Linked DNA regions of Homo sapiens: region 2 is linked to region 1. Evidence: promoter capture Hi-C in 16 types of primary human blood cells and fetal thymus (Javierre and others, 2016). All regions are on one chromosome and are shown on one strand. The core of a region is centred on a gene start or on the middle of the fragment in contact, and the rest is flanking DNA. Distances in the headings are between cores, read along the strand shown. Region 1 holds the start of NUDT10 (nudix hydrolase 10). Region 2 has its middle 44 kb from the start of NUDT11.

The links. Contacts are between HindIII fragments. The CHiCAGO score rates a contact against its expected background, and 5 or more counts as called.
Region 2: a fragment that was not itself captured here is called in contact with the fragment with the promoter of NUDT10 in region 1 in 3 of 17 cell types (naive CD4 T cells, non-activated CD4 T cells and fetal thymus); the score reaches 8.0 in naive CD4 T cells.

What each region holds. Positions count from the first base shown.
Region 1 is chrX:51,330,976-51,336,521 of GRCh38, forward strand. NUDT10 (nudix hydrolase 10) reads left to right here and starts at 1,847. Exons shown (of 2, transcript NM_001304963.2): 1 at 1,847-2,484; 2 at 5,264-5,546. The coding sequence starts at 1,991. The coding sequence ends at 5,264. The region is part of intron 4 of LOC105373204 (a long non-coding RNA gene); the gene reads right to left. The HindIII fragment of the contact is 9,034 bases long and covers 1-5,546 here.
Region 2 is chrX:51,449,896-51,455,518 of GRCh38, forward strand. No RefSeq gene overlaps it. Among named protein-coding and RNA genes, the nearest start is that of NUDT11, 44 kb to the right of the region's middle. The HindIII fragment of the contact is 9,447 bases long and covers 1-5,623 here.

The DNA.
Region 1 (5,546 bases), core at 597-3,096:
AGGCCCCACTTCCACCATTGGGGATTACAATTTAACATGAGATTTGGGCAAGGACAAGTATCCAAACTATGTCAGCTGTGAAAGTTTGGGGAAAAGGTAATTAAAAAATTCCCTTGCTATTGTATTAAGCCTGTTTTAAGTTGTGGGTCTCCATATCCAGACTTTTCCAGTAGGGTTTCAGTCTGTGCCTCTTTCCATGTTATAATGTCCTATTCCTCTTCCCTGCCACAAGTATGCCCCCGGAAGGGACCTATTGCAGAGGCACGGTGTGATGTAGAACTGATACTGATGGAATAGACTAGAAAATGGCACCTCTTTCTTGTGAGACAAAGGAGACAGTACCTGGCAATTGTGAAGCAGCCCTGCCCTGTGGCCGGAGCCTGGATTGGCCCCTCTCGAACCCAGACACCCCACTAGTCTGCTAGTTTTGCTAGAGTGTCTCGTGATTCATTCAAATCATGTTTCAAAGCTCTGAGTAGAAGTTCAACCATTTTGTACTACTAAGTCCTAACCACATTTTTAGGACCCCTTAGTATTTTATTTGTTTTGTGGTGGTTAATAGTACACTTTGGGAGGCCGAGGTGGGCGGATCGCGAGGTTAGGAGTTCAAGAGCAGCCTGACCAACATGGTGAAACCCGTCTCTTCTAAAGCTACAAAAATTAGCCAGGCGTGATGGCACCCGCCTGTAATCCCAGCTACTCAGGAGGCTGAGGCAGGAGGATCGCTTGAACCCAGGAGGCGAAGGTTGCAGTGAGCTAAGATCGTGCCACGGCACTCCAGCCTGGGCGACAGAGCGACAGAGTGAGACTCCATCTCAAAAAATAAAATAAAATAAAATTGTGAAATAGGACGGGATCTCCATGTGCATGGTTTCCCAAACACCAAGTGGTGCTTATCAAAGAGAAAGATAGAGAAGGGTGGAGTGTGTGGAGAATAGGAGAACGTCTCTGGGCTTTAACGCAGGACTACTAGATGGGTGGTGCTCTGGTCTTTAAGGTGTACTGCATCGAAGTGCAAATGGCTGCAACACGGAGGCGAGGAGTGTACCCATGAGGAAACTGAGGTGCAGGGAGGTCAGGCAGGTTGTGAACAGGGGTTTAAGAAAAGCGTTAAATTACTGGCTGCGCCAAGATGCTCTGCAAGGTGGGAACCTGTTGAAGAAATAAAACTGCATCATGTGACTCAGCAAAGATGCCCGGCTACTGTGCCAAGAATCCCGTGGGTTGTGCAGACAACACTAGGGCCCAGGTCCCATGAGTAAGCCAGAATGGTTGATAGTGGGGGAGGATGATGACGACGCTGCCTTTGCCCCTGTCTTGTGTGAAACAACTGCCTGTGGGTTTCCTGCAGCGCAGTGGGGAGTGAGAGGAGAAACGTCCTGCCGTGCCACAGTGAGTTTGGGTCAAAGGCACACATGGAGGCAGTCTTGGCCAAAGTCACAATGCGGTGAATTTCGCTGTGCGCCAAGGAGGTTCCTGGCCCCAGGAGTGCGAAGCGCCTGCGCAGTGGGCCCCAGGCGTTGCGCGCTGCGGGAGCCAGGAGACCCCCGCCCCTGGCCCCTCGCCCCGGTTCCTCGCCCCTCAGCCCACGCCCTCCCCTGCGAACGCGCACGTGAACGGGAGCGCGGACGCGCCCGAGAATGCGCTTCACCTCGCAGAAGCGGGTGGGCTCTGTGGAGAGTCGCGGGCTCGCGGGCAGCAGCGCCTCCTCCACTCCGGCGGGCCCGGGTTCGGCCGGCCGCCCATCGGACTGGCGGACTGGCTGACTGACACGCCTCGCTTGCCCCCGCCTCCGCCCGTGCCCCGCCCAGCTTCATCTCTCCCTCCGCTCCCCGGGCTCGGGGGCAGACGGCAGACGGAGGCGCCTCTCTCTCCCCGCCCCTCTCCTCGGCCCTTTCTCTTCCCAGCACCTCGGCTGCTGCCCGGCAGCGGCAGCAGCTGCGTCGGCGGCCCACACAGCAGCGAGAGGCGAGAGGAGGCTGCCTCGAGGATGAAGTGCAAACCCAACCAGACACGGACCTACGACCCCGAGGGGTTCAAGAAGCGGGCGGCGTGCCTGTGCTTCCGGAGCGAGCGCGAGGACGAGGTCCTGTTAGTGAGTAGCAGCCGGTACCCGGACCGCTGGATCGTGCCGGGCGGGGGCATGGAGCCCGAGGAGGAGCCGGGCGGTGCGGCGGTCCGAGAGGTGTACGAAGAGGCGGGAGTCAAGGGGAAGTTAGGCCGGCTCCTGGGCGTCTTCGAACAGAACCAGGACCCCAAGCACAGAACGTACGTGTATGTACTGACTGTCACGGAGCTGCTGGAGGATTGGGAAGATTCGGTTAGCATTGGGAGGAAGCGAGAGTGGTTCAAAGTCGAAGATGCCATCAAGGTTCTCCAGTGCCACAAGCCCGTGCACGCCGAATATCTGGAGAAACTAAAGCTGGGCGGTTCCCCAACCAATGGAAACTCCATGGCCCCATCCTCGCCAGATAGCGATCCCTAGTATGTACCGCTTGCGCCCGCACAGACTTCTGTTTGTCTGCCTTGCTTAAAATGCATCCCGCCTGGAGCACCTCTCGTACCATGTGCGGTCTCATGGGCAGGAGGGAGGCTTTTGTTTCCTTGGCAGACCCTCTGAATCACGCTTGCAAACTGTTGCCAGGCCCTGTTTTCAGTTGGCACGTTTTTCAGTTGCTTTCAAAATCGCTTCTTGGTTACCCTGTAAAATGTTTCGGAGAAGCCTATGCCGCTTGGGGTTTTAGGTGCTGTAACTGTTCACCCTGCTTTTGGGCGGGGGGGGGGGGGGTGGGGGGCGAGGGGTGGGCGGGGAGTGTGTGTGTCTGCCTGTGCGCCCTGTGATGTTTTTGGTTCTTTTATATTTCACACATATTCGTGGGTGCGTGCACATTTTTGATACCAGCCTTGTGGTTTGTTTGGTAGTGGAGGCCTTTAAAGTCTGACCAGCTTGGTTGTGTGGCATCTTTTAGTATTTTTTTCCCTTGAGTTGTTTTCTCCTTCACAGCGTTCGCCCTTGTTGTCAGGGAGGCCTTCTGTGGTGGGAGTTGGTTTAAAAAATCAGTTTTGAATTCGTAAAAACATTAGGAAATCCTACATCTTGTGCTCTTTCTGCACTCGACAGTCGCTCTAGCCTCTGAAGTGGTATCTCATTTGCCCCTTTCAGAAATTTCTTTTTCTATTTCTATGTAGGTCATTTGGTTTTCAAAAAATTTTCACAAGTAATTTTTCACTGCTGACTTTAAATCGCTATTTCCCATGTAGATTAACCTTACTGAATAGATGCTGCTGGGGATCTGCTAGCCAAACGCATCTGATCAGAAAAACTGTATTCACAGAATTTGATTTCCCATACTCAACTTCCAACTCCCATTGCCCCTTACTGGATACCATAGAAGAACCATGGTTCTCTGGATTTAAGTTTGTTTTTGAAAGAAAGTGGTTTCCATTCCATATTTGAATGTAGTGACATTCCGCTTAACCTCCCTGACTCCCAGTAACCACAGGAATGGAATCTTTTGTGGTGATTACATCCCAACAGAGTTAGCTCTAGCGATGTTCAGCTGGTACAGAATTGTCAAACTATTAGGATTCCTGAACAATCTCTCAATGATAGAGAGTAATTGTTTTGTCTCACAGTACCACCTTTTCTGGGTGCCAAATTAAAAGCTCTCACGTTTGCCTCAGTACTTGCTTGAAGTCAGGAATCCCATCTAGAATAGCTAAATCTCTCTTCTGGACCTTCCGCTGTTCCCCCAGCCATGTCTGACATTAGGTAGAAGGAAAACCTATTTTGTGAAGAGGGTATTCGAATGAAAAGATCATTCCTAATTTCTAGAGCAACCTAGACTATGTCATATCTCTTAAACATTATTGACAGGTATTGGGGTCCCTTAACTTTTTTTTTTGAGATGGAGTCTTGTTCTATGGGTCACTGTTACGCACTTTCTATTAAGAAATTTTGGGTTTCGCTATGTAAATTCTAGGTTCCTCTTCTGGATTTCATCTCCCATGACAGTTGAGGAAATGTCTAGTTTTTGAAGAGAGTATGGGTGGGGGCTGGGGGACCGGGCGCGGTGGCTCACGCCTGTAATCCCAGCACTTTGGAAGGCCGAGGCGGGCAGATAACGAGGTTAGGAGATCAAGATCAGCCTGGCCAGCATGGTGAAACCCCGTCTCTACTAAAAATACAAAAACTAGCTGGGCATCGTGGTGTGCGCCTGTAATCCCAGCTACTCGGGAGGCTGAGGTAGGAGAATCGCTTGATCCCGGGAGGCGGAGGTTGCAGCGAGCCGAGATCGTGCCACTGCACTCCAGCCTGGGCGACCGTCTCAAAAAAAAAAAAAAAAAAAAAAGACTGATTTTCCCCCTCGTCCCTGTCCCCCAATGGACAAGTGCCTACTTTTTCTTATTCTAAAAAAAATTTGAAGACGACATGTTGGAGTAAAGGTAAGTTTGGTTGCTTGATACAGAATTTGCTCTGGATGGTTAACATATTTTCTAAGAAACCTATGTTCTGTTGATCAGGTCACCTTTGAAAGAAGTAACCCTGAAAGGGGTGAAAGGTGGCCATAAATATTTTTAAGTCCTGTAGAAAATTGATAAAAATTGAAGTGTGTATGTGTAAGAGCTTGTAAAGAAACAGCAACATTAGAGGGCCCTTGTGGGATAGATGGTTTAAAGGGCTCTGATGCTGGAGCTGCTCCTTGTCTCACTTGCCTTTAAGTGGAGTTCAATTGTAAGAAAAAGCATGTCCTCCCTCCATAGTTGTTGACTGGGAAAAGGGAGATTAGAGCTTACAGCACTAACAGCTGGCCAGAGTTTTATTTTTCAGAGTTCCTTTTGTGGAAGCATCAGTCAAAACAAATATTCTCAGCATCATTCTTGTATTGCAATCATCTTTCTGAATGACTGTTGGCCTATTAGAATATGGACTTTTTGAGGACTAGGACCCAGACTGAATCCTCCCCCATATCCTCAGAGCCTAGAACAGTGCCTGAAATTTGGAGACATTTGTCTTTGATCCACAGATTAGAAATGTCTACAAGTGTATTCCCGATTTCTGAGCTTCATAATGTACCTGGGACAATCTGTTATTCCCTCAGGCTCTCATCTGGCCTCACAGTGAAACTGCATTCGATAATTCACTGAAGGCTTTTCCAATTCAAAATGGTTGATGAGCCATAGTAGGTGCTCAATAAGTATTTGTTGATTAGAGGAATGGATGAACCAATAAAACCCTATTAATAAGAATTTTTCTTTTTAGGTGAATGGCATAGATGTTGTTCAGATTTACTTTGAAAGAATCAAGTATGTGAATGGATGGATGAATGGAATTGTGAAGCACAGATGAGCTCTTTCACACTCCAAGGACACAGCTCATCCTATGCTTTTGGACACTTCTTCCCTGTTTATTACAATGACTATTCTCCAGGTTGTTGCACTACCGCTGTATCTGTACATAATTCTAACTTGGCACCTGTGGCCTTTTTTGTGCTCTTATGTGTCTGTATTTCCCGGCAGAGTATACGCCCTTGAATGCCAGGAAC
Region 2 (5,623 bases), core at 2,202-4,701, 120 kb after region 1:
CTGAAACATCATTGTTGCCCTCTAGTTAGAGTAGGAGCTTATGGAGATCAGGTGATTAATGGAGTTTTAGCTCAGGTCTGACTTGCAATGTGTCCAGTGGGTCCCCAAACCCATTTTGTGGTTATTTCCGTAGTTCCAGAATGCATAATTAAATAGACATGCTTAGTATCTGGCAGAATCCCCACATTGGTCCCCTAACCTGTGGGGTGAGAGTTAATATGGTGGGAAAAGCTAAATGGAAGCCATTAGAGTTGCTTCTACCTAGAAAAATAGTAAATCAAAAACACTACTGCATCTCTGGAGGGACTGCAGAGATTAATGCCACCATCGAGGACTTGAACGATGGAGGGGTGGTAATTCCCACCACATCCCTATTCAACTCTCCTATTTGGCTTGTGCAGAAGACAGATGGATGTTGGAGAATGACAGTTAATTATCATAATACTTCATCAAGTGGTGATTCCAATTGCAGCCGCTGTACCAGATGTTTCATTACTTGAGCAAATTAACACACCTTCTGCTACCTGGTATACAGCTATTGATCGGGCTTTGAGTCCTGCTACCAGCCTGTCTGGTTCTTCAGCTTGCAGACTACCTATCGTGGGACTTCACCACTTCTGTGATTGTGGTAGCAGATTCCCCCTAATAAATTTCCTTCCATACATTCTACTGGTTCTGTCTCTCTGGAGAACTCTGAGTAATACAATATCCATTCTTTTGCATGTGAATATCCAGTTGTCCCTGCATCATTTTTGAAAACACTATCTTTTCCCCCACAAAATTATCTTGGCCCCTTTGACAAATTTACTTCTTCCTTTACTTTATCAAAGAGTTTGTGAAGGATTGATATTAATTCATATTTAAATGTTAATTAGGATTCACCAGTAAATCCATCTAGACCTGGGTGTTTTTGTGTGGCGGCGGGGGGGGGGGGGGTTTGAAATTACTAATTTAATCTTTTTATTTGTTATAGGTTTATTCAGATTTTCTATTTCTTCTTGTGCTAGTATTGGTAATTTGTGTCTTGGTAGGAATTTATCTATTTAAGTTATATAATTTGTTGGCATATACTTGTTTATAGGTTTCCTTATGATACTATTAATTTATATAAGTTTGTTTGTGTTATCTTCTCTTTCAGTCCTAATGTTACTAATTTATGTCTTCCTTTTTTGTTGGTCATTCTAGCCAAAGGCTTGTCAATTTGTTGATCAGATTTAAGAAATAACTTTTGGTTTTGTTATTTTCTATTTAGTTTATTTGAAGTCTAATGTTCATTTTTTCTTTCCTTCTGTTTGCTTTTGGTTTAGTTTGCTCTTCTTTTCCTACTTTATTAAGGTTAAAGGTTGGGTTACTGATTTGAGAACTTTTTTAGCATTTTATAGAAATTATTTTCCTTCCAAACACGCTTAAGGTGCATCACATAAGTTTGGTATGTTTTTTTATTTTCATTCATCTCAACATCTTTTCTAATTTCCCTTTTGATTTATTCTAAAACCCACTGGTTGTTTAGGAGCACATTAATTTCCACATATTTTTGAATTTACAAATTTTCCTTTTACTACTGATTTCTAATCTCACTCTACTGTGGTTGAAGGACATATGTATATAATTTCAATAATTCTAAGTTTATTGTGGGTTATTTTAAGGCCTTGCTTATATACTCTCCTAGAGAATGTTTCATACATGCACTTAGGAAGAGTGTATATTCTTCTATTGTGCTGTAAATTGATTTACAGATATGTGTTAAGTTTAGTTGGTTTATATTATTATTATTCAAGTTTTCTATACCTCCGTTCTTTTGCCTAGATATTTTATTCATTATTCAATGTGTGATATTGGAATTCTCAACTATTTTTTTAAATCATATATTTATTTCTTCAATTATGTCATTTCTTTTGCCTCATGTATTTTGGGATTCTTCTGTTATATGCATGCACATTTATAATTGTTATATTTTCCCAATGGATTGATATTTTATCATTATAAAATATCTCTTTTTATCGCTATCAACATTTTTGACCAAAAAACTATTTTGTCTGATATTAGCATAGCCCCTCCAGATCTCTTATGGCTGTTTTCGCACAACATCGGTTTCCGCCTTTTTAGTTTCAACCTATTTGTATCTTTGAAAGCAAAGTATGTCTTTTGTAGACACCATAAGTAGGATTGGATCTTGTTTTTCTATCAGACAATCTCTGCCTTTTGATTGGATAGTTTAATTGATTCACATTTAATATTATTATTGATATGCTTTGATTTATGTTTACAATTGTGCTTTTGGTTTCTATATATTTTGTGTCTTTTGTGTTCCTCTAGTCCTTTTTTCTGTCTTATATTAAGTAGTTATTTTCTAGAGTAACTTTTTCATTTCTTTAATGGTTTTCACTACATTTTTTAGCAATTTTCCTGGTTGTTGCTTTGACTTATGGATTATATGTCAAGTTAAACTACTTCAAATAATTCCAATAAGATAGAAAATCTTAGTTCCTTTATAGCTTCTGTACCTCCCACCCCCTTTGCGATATTGTATATACTACATCTATTCATATTACAAAAAACAATATAGTATTACAATTATTGCTTTACATAATTGTGTGTCTTTTAAAGAAGGTAAGAGAATAAAGGAGAAAAAAATATATTTATACCATTTTTATATTAACCTTATTTACCATTTCTGTCTTTGTGTATTTCTCCTGATGAAGTCAGGTTATTGTGTGGTGATATCTCTTTACTCCAATATATTTCATGTCTGACCTCCTTTTTTGTTCTGTTATTGTCAAATATATTGTATTTCTATATGTAATATGTCAAGTATATAATTTTATAGATTTTTATGCAATATGTTCTTTTTTTTTTTTTTTTGACGGAGTCTCACTCTGTCACCAGGCTGGAGTGCAGTGGTGCAATCTCGGCTTACTGCAACCTCCACTTCCCAGGTTCAAGCAATTCTCCTGCCTCAGCCTCCCGAATAGCTGGGACTACAGGCAAGCGTCACCACGCCCAGCTAATTTTTGTATTTTAAGTAGAGACAGGGTTTCACCATGTTGGCCAGGATGGTCTTGATCTCCTGACCTCGTGATCTGCCTGCCTCGGCCTCCCAAAGTGCTGAGATTACAGGCATGAACCACCACGCCTGGCCGCGATATGTTCTTAACTCAGTTTACAAACAAGGAATGATACAATCTTTTATACTTATCTACATAATTATTTTTAATAGGATTCTTTGTTTTGATGTTTAGATTTAAATTATTCTATAGTGTCCCTTTCTTTCAGCCTGAAGAACTTTCTCTAGTATTTCCTGTGAATAGGAAATACTAGCAGCACAGCTCTGCTAGTATGTTAGTTTCCTATGGCTTCTGTAACAAATTATCACAAACTTAGTGGCTTAAAACAACACAAATGTATTATCTTATTGTTCTGGAAGTCAGAAGTCCATTCATCTTACTATGCCAAAATCAAAATGTTAGTAGGGCTGTACTGTCTTTGGAGGCTCTACAGGAAAACTTGCTTTGTTGCCTTTCCAGCTTCGAAACATCACCTGCATTCCTTGGCTCATGACCCCTTCTAACCTTCCTCAAGTCCATCACTCCAACCTCTGTAATCATAGGTTACTGGGATTAGGACATGGACATCTTTGGTGGACCATATTCTGTCTACCACAGATGGCAATGAAATTATCTCAGCTTTTTTGTTGTTGTTTTTCAGGGTATGTATTTTGCCTTCACTTTTGAAAAATAATTTTGTTGTATATAAGACTATTAGTTGCTTTTTTTCCTTAAACACTTTGAATATGTCATTCCACTGCCTTCTGTCTTCCATGATTTGTGATGAAAAGTCACCTATTATTCTTATTGCAGGATACCTTATATATGATCTTCTTCTCTTGCAAATATCAAGAGTTTATCATGTGTCCCATATTTCTCTGATGCTCTTTTATCTTTATTCTTGTTTCTGTCTGTTCTTCAGATTGCAAAATCTATTGTTATATCTTTAAGTTTACTGATTCTTTCTTCTGCCAGCTCTGATCTGCTGTTGAGCACCTCTTGTGAGTTTTTATTTAAGTGTACTTTTTTAGTTTAAAAAAAAAAAAAGGATGCTGGTGAGGTGGTGGAGAAAAAGGAATGCTTATACACTGTTGGTGGGAGTGTAAATCAGTTCAACCATTGTGGAAATTCCTCAGAGACCTAAAGACAGAAATACCATTTGACCCAGCAATCCCATTACTGGGTATATACCCAAAGGAATATAAATTATTCTATTATAAAGACACATGCACATGTATGTTCATTGCAGCATTGTTCACAATAGCAAAGACATGGAATCAACCTAAATGCCCATCAATGATAGACTGGATAAAGAAAATGTGGTACATATATACCATGGAATACTATGCATCCAGTATAAAGAACGAGATCATGTCCCTTGCAGGGACATGGATGGAACTGGAGACCATTATTCTTGGCAATCCAAAACAGGAACAGAAGACCAAATACCACGTGTTCTCACTTATAAGTGGGAGCTAAATGATGAAAACACATGGACACATAGAGGGGAACAACACACAGAGGGGCCTATTGGAGGGTAGACGATGGAGGGTGGAAGAAGGGAGAGGATCAGGAAAAATAACAAATGGGTACTAGGCTTAATAGCTGGGTGATAAAATAATCTGTAAAACAAACCCCCAGGACACAAGTTTACCTATGTAACAAACCTGCACATGTACCCCTAAACTTTAAATAAAAGTTTAAAGAAATTCTCACTCCTTCAGGGATTATGTAAAGAGTTTTTGGCATTCATTTAAGAAATCAACAGTTGATCTAGTTATAAACCAATTGAAAGAAGTTGTAAAATAAGTTGATGATGGAATTCCATTGTATCAGGAGAATATCACCAATGCTTTTTACAAATGCCTTTATGCAGCCATGATGCAAAATGAAATCAATAAAATATCAATTATTGCAAAGTTAAAAATAGTGTACTTTTTGACTAATTTTTGACCAAAAAGAAAACTCTGTTAAATATTTCAATAAGTTTATTCTGAGCCAATGTGTCACCATGGCCCAGGGAACAGTCTCAGGAGGTCCTGAGAAAGTACACCTGAGGCAGTCAGGTTATGGTTTGGTTTTATACATTTTAGAGAGACAGAAGTTACAGGCAAAGACATAAGGTATACATTGGTTTAGCCCAGAAAAGCAGGACATCTCAAACTGAGGGGGACAGCTTACAGGTCATAAATGGATTCAAAGATTTTCTGATCGGCAGTTGGTTGAAAGAGTTAAGCTGAAGACTTGACATCAGTAAAAAAAAAAAAAAAAGAAAAGAAAGAAATGATTGAGTTAAGATAAGGGGAGTTGTGGAAACCAAGGTTCTTATTATGTATATGAAGTCCCCAGGTAGCAGGCTTCAGAGGGAATAGATGGTAAATGTCTCTTTTCAAACCTTAAAATAGGTGTCAGACTCTTAATCTTTCCTAGATTCAGGAAAGGCCTAGCTGTATTAATGGGGATTCTCTACACATGCAAAATTTCCTCCACCAAAGATGGCTTTGCAGGGCCATTTCAAAACATGTCAAAAAAAAACATTTTAGGGTAAAATATTTTTATTTTCTTCAGGGTCTACTATC